2 separate regions of the Homo sapiens genome follow, and region 1 is linked to region 2. Evidence: promoter capture Hi-C in 16 types of primary human blood cells and fetal thymus (Javierre and others, 2016). All regions are on one chromosome and are shown on one strand. The core of a region is centred on a gene start or on the middle of the fragment in contact, and the rest is flanking DNA. Distances in the headings are between cores, read along the strand shown. Region 1 overlaps LINC01746 (long intergenic non-protein coding RNA 1746). Region 2 holds the start of TGM2 (transglutaminase 2).

Region 1 (2,954 bases), core at 140-2,639, 580 kb before region 2:
GTCAATCCATCAGGTATACATAACAGCTATAAACACATATGCATCTAACAATAAAGCTCCAAAATACATGAAGCAAAAACTGACAGAATTGAAGGCAGAAATAGACAATTCAACAATAATAGATGGAAACTTTAATATTCTACTTTTAATAATGAATACGATACCTATGCAGAAGATCAACAAGGAAATGAAAGACCTGAACAATATTAAAAACTAACTTGACCTAACAGACACCTATGGAATATTCCTCTCAACAGCAGCATTTTTCTTAAGTATGCATAGATCATTCTCTAAAATAGATAATATGTTAGGTCACAGAACTAGTCTCATATGTTCAAAAGGATTTAAATCACACAAAATATGTTTTCTGACCACATAAAATGAAATTAATTATAAAAACATAATGAAAGAACTTTGGGAAAGCACTTTCCAAAAAAATGTGGAAATATAAACAACACACTACTAACTAGCCAATTAGTCAAAAAAGAAATAACAAGGAAAACTAGAAAATATTTTGAGATGAATGAAAATGAAGACACAACATACCACAACTTATGGGATGTTGCTTAGGCAGTGCTTAGAGGAAAGTTTACAGCTACAATCACCTATATTAAAATAAATAAAGATCTCGAATCAGTCACCTAAACTTCCTCCATAAAGAAATTAGAAAAAGAGGGGCAAACTAAATCCACAGTAAGCAGAGACAATTACATAATAAAAATTAAAGAGGAAATAAGTGAATGTACCACTTTATACCTAGTAGGATGGGTATAATAATGAAAAAAGGACAATAACAGGTGTTACTTGGCAAGGATTTGGAGAAATTGAAACCCTCATACATTAATGATGGGAATATAAAATGGAAACATTTTGTCAGTTTCTCAAAAAGTTGGACATAGAGTTACTATAGGACCCAGCAATTTTACTTTTAGGTATACATCCAGTCAAATGAACCTATTTTCAAACAAAAACTTACTAATGTATGTTTATAGCTACATTATTTATAATAGCCAAAAGGTGTAAGCAACCCAAACATCCATTAGCTGATGAATGTGTAAACAAAATGTGGTATATCCATACAACAGGGTATTATTCAGTCATGAAAAGAAAGGTGCTACAACGTAGATGACCCTTGAAAACATTATGCTAAGTGAAAGAAGACACAAAAGGCCACACATTGTATGATTCCATTTATATGAGAGATCTAAAATAAGGAACTCCATGGAGACAGGAAGTAGATTGGTGGTTGCCTAGGGCTGGGAGCAGGGAGAAATGAGGTCTAACTGCTAATGGGTATGGGGTTTCTTTTTGAGGTGTTGGAAATGTTCTGGAATTAAATAGTGATTGTACAACTTTGTGAATATACTAAAGACACTGAATGCGCACTTTAAAAGGATATATTTTATGGCATATGAATTATATCTCAATAAAACTGTCATAAAAGTCAATGTTCTGCCATGCTATTTTCTTCTTGTGTATCTTTCCAGAGATACTCTAGGCATGTGGCAGCATATATATGTATATAGTAAATATTTCTGTTTTTTTTTTGTTTGTTTTTGTTTTGTTGAGATGGAGTCTCGCTCTCTCGCCCAGGCTGGAGTGCAGTGGTGTGATCTCAGCTCACTGCAATCTCCTCCTCTTGGATTCAAGTGATTCTCCCACCTCAGCCTCCAGAGTAGTTGGGATTACAGGCATGTGCCGCAACAACCCAGCTAATTTTGTATTTTTAGTAGAGATGGGGTTTCACCATGTTGGCCAGGCTGGTCTCGAACTCCTGACCTTAAGTAGTCTGCCTGCCTTGGCCTCCCAAAGTGCTGGGATTACAGGTGTGAGCCACCGCGCCCAGCCTATAATAAATATTTCACTAAGTCTGAGATTCTATTAATGAAAACAGTATTTTATGTACTAAAAAGGAAGAAAAAATTAATTTTAATTGTAAGGCATATCTCAATTTCAGGGATGTTAACATGTTTAACATGTGGCTCTTGGAATCAGTGCAAATATTGATCACGTGTTTTGGAGAGCTCATGAATCAGGATATATCCTGGATGTGGTGGATACTTTCAGTGAACCTCATAGGTCCCTTTCAGACAGCTCCTGCACACAGTAATGGTTTTCTGCGTCTTTATCTAAGGGTGCTTCCTGGGTGCGCTTAGCCCAGAAATGCAGAATTAGTGCCCAGGAGCAACCTTCAGTCAGCAAGGAACAGGAGATGTAGAGAAAGCCAGCCATGGTGGCTCACGCCTGTAATCCCAGCACTTTGGGAAGCCGAGGCGGGCAGATCACTTGAGGTCAGGAGTTTGAGACCAGCCTGGCCAACATGGCGAAACCGTGTCACTGCTAAAATACAAAAAAGAAAAAAGAAAAAGAAAACAAAGAAAAAAAATTAGCCGACTGTGGTGGCACATGCCTGTAATCCCAGCTACTTGGGAGACTGAGGCAGGAGAATCGCTTGAACCCGGGAGGTAGAGGTTGCAGTGAGCCAAGATCTTGACACTGCACTCTGGCCTGGGCGACAGAGCAAGACTCCATCTCAAAACAACAACAACAACAAGAAACCAACCAGGAATTTGAAAGAAGCACCAACAACTTCCTTGCCCTTCAGAGACAATTCTGAAGTGCGTCTCACATGGTCTTTCAGAGGATGTCTAGCAGGACGGAGCCCCAGAGACCCCAGGTGTTAACTCACTCAGAATACACATTTGTCTCCTGTCATCCTTGCTGAGATTCCTAGGATCCCACATAAACTATTTGCACCCAAATCCCAGTCTTAGACTTTTCCTTTGAGAGAACCCACATTTAAATACTGTGTGTATGGCTGTGAATGGGGTGTGCACATCTGTGTTCATGAATATATGGGAATCAAAGTATGAATACATGTGTATACCCATGTTTATGTGTGTCTATGGAAGCATTTCTGTTTGGAAATTGGCATGAATGTGTATGTACACATG
Region 2 (2,700 bases), core at 201-2,700:
GAAAGAGGCCATTGTTGTTCCCATGGAAGACCCTGGAGATACGGCCAGTCCCTGGGCTGTGGGAGCTGGGGCATTTTCTCCATCTGTTGTCCGAAGAAGGGTTTCCAGAAATCACGCCCAGCTCCAAAGATGCAGGTCTAGAATTGTAGGATTTATAGGATTTCTGCACTTAGAAAGGGCCTAGGCCTTCTAGGCCAGTGAGACCTCTGTCAGAAGTGGCCACTGTGACATGGGGCTGGAGGCTCATCATAACTGGCATCTCCAGGATCTCCCAGCCCCACTGAGCCCTGCTTTTGAGCATGGGGGTGAGAAGATGCATTGAGGACAAGCGGCCACCGAGGCGACACATCACAGTGTGTTGGGAGCTGGGCCCGAGGGAGGCAGGTGGCTGAGATCACACAGCAGGGTCAGGTGGGTCCACAGTTCCTGCCACCCATTCCTGCTCCACCTGCCCCATGTCCCTGTCCCACACCCCTTCCTGGGGGTTGCAATGGGTGCAGAAGCCATCCCCAGATGAACTTGACCCAAGAGCCAGCTGGGATTCTGGGTCCAGCAGTGACATCCTCCATTGTAGAAATCCCTCCAGCTGGGACCTACGAGAGTGCTGCTTGTGTGTGGGGAGGGAGTCAGGGGCACCAGTATGAAATTAGTTAAGCCTCTGTTCCACTCCTCTCGTTCCTCACAGATGCACCAAAGGCTGGAGCAGAGGACCAGGGCACGGTCAGGGTGACAGATGGGTGGGGGTCTTGGGGGAAAACAAATCTCATAAACCTTGTCCTATAAAATAAGGACACTGTTGTCCTTATTTTATAGGTGAGACTCAACAATTGGCCAAGGTCTAGGGTTGCAGAACGTGAGGGCGGGAAGAACAAGCCTGATTTCCGAAGGCTCCTGGATAGGATGCCGAAAGCTCCTCTCTGGCCGCTGGAGCCAAGGACTCAGCCAGGCTTGGCTTGCACACCACCGGCGTGGCATGCACACCACCTGGTCCTGGCTGGCAAGAACCACCCAAACCTAAGTGTTCTGAGGCCAGGCCAGCACCCCCTGCACAGCTCCAGGCACACATCAGAGAGCCAGCCCCCACTGACTGACTGAGGACACGTGCCAGTGGTCCGCCAGGACAGTACTTTACAGTTTACAACACCCCGTCGCGTTCCATTGCCTCACCTGATCCAGGGAGGCAAGGGTTAATGGTTATGCAGTGTGGATGGGGAAACTGAGGCTCCAAGCAGCATTGAGACGCCTCCTCACCCAGCCCGGTCTGCCTGTTGCTCTCCAAATCAGGACTTAGGGATTCAGCTCCCACCGGGTCCTGACCCCCAATGCCCCGGGGCCCCTGAGTGGCGGCTGCGGTGACTCTGATACTCACCCTCGGCCATGGTCGGGCGGGGGCGGTGGCTCCTTCCACTGGCGGCGAGACCCTCCAAGTGCGACCACTGGCGGCTGGCACTGCCGAGGCGGAGAGCGGCGCTAACTTATAGCCCGCTTTGGGGCGGGCCGGGGGCGGGGCCCCGCGGGAAGGCGGCGACCTGGGAGGCCACCCATTGCCCAGTCCCGGGCCCACGCCGCCAGCGCTGGGGCTCACCCAGGGGACCGGAGCCCGAGGGAGGGACGGCGGCCGGACGAGGGCGCCCCCTGGGGGAGCGGACAGGGACACACAACTAGCCCAGGATACAGACACACCTGGACCCACAGACTCAGACCTTGGAGAACAGACACCTGGACACACACACTCAGATACAGACACACGCAGCACCCTCATAGAAACACACAACGGAACCGGGGTGCACCTGGACACACAGATGTGGACTCTTAGGTCAGATCTGGGATCAAGAACACCTCCCCACCCCCAACACACACACACACACACACACACACACACGCACACACTCACACACATACTCAGATATACATACACAGAGAGCAGACGCAGACACACCAAGACAGGGCTGTGGAGATACACACACAAACACAGATACACTCCCACAGATACACCAAACACGGCTGGCCACGCAGACACAGTGACATGGATACAAATTCAGATTCGAATGGCAGACACACACCAGGACATAGATACAGCCTGACACAGCCAGGTAGCCTTGACCGCGAGCCACACACAGCTGTGGACACAGATGAGCAGGTGTCCAGAGGCACCTGGCACACACACAGACCTCCTAGACACCAATGCCACTGTCAGATGTGGACGCAAAATCAGAGAGGGCACCCACAGACACACAAAGATGTGGCTACTCAGAGGTAGACACACATGCAGGCATGGACTCAGGTACAGACATGCAGACACACCTGCAAAAACAGACACACCCATGTCCCTTCCTGTAGCAAAACCCAGATAATCCTCCGATCTCACCCATCCTTGTATCTGTCTAATCAGCCATCCATCTAATCAGCCATCCATCTACCCATCCATCCACTCACCCATGCATCACCTACCCCCCCACCTATCCATCCACTCATCCCTTCATCCATCCCTCCCTCGGCCTTCTCTTCCCTCCCTCCCTCAATCCATCCATCCACTGAGCTTTCTTGAGGCCCCACTGTGTGCCAGAAAGGAGCAAGACTAACTTTCCAGGGACTCAGCCTAGGACTTCTCGAACCTGGCAACCAGGGGTCCTATCTCTCATCCTGGTATCTCTGGTCTCTTGGTCTCCTGTGCTTCCGGATCCACTGTGAGCCCTGAGC

Evidence for each region. The method cuts DNA at HindIII sites, captures the fragments that hold promoters and counts their contacts. A CHiCAGO score of 5 or more calls a contact.
Region 1: a fragment that was not itself captured here is called in contact with the fragment with the promoter of TGM2 in region 2 in 1 of 17 cell types (naive B cells); the score reaches 5.5 in naive B cells.

The regions. Positions count from the first base shown.
Region 1 is chr20:37,587,494-37,590,447 of GRCh38, forward strand. All of the region lies in intron 3 of LINC01746 (long intergenic non-protein coding RNA 1746), which reads left to right. Among named protein-coding and RNA genes, the nearest start is that of LINC01746, 18 kb to the left of the region's middle. The HindIII fragment of the contact is 6,757 bases long and covers 1-2,954 here.
Region 2 is chr20:38,163,820-38,166,519 of GRCh38, forward strand. It overlaps TGM2 (transglutaminase 2), which reads right to left and starts at 1,451. Exons shown (of 13, transcript NM_004613.4): 1 at 1,370-1,451. The coding sequence starts at 1,379. RefSeq lists a silencer at 1,304-1,743. The HindIII fragment of the contact is 3,789 bases long and covers 1-2,700 here.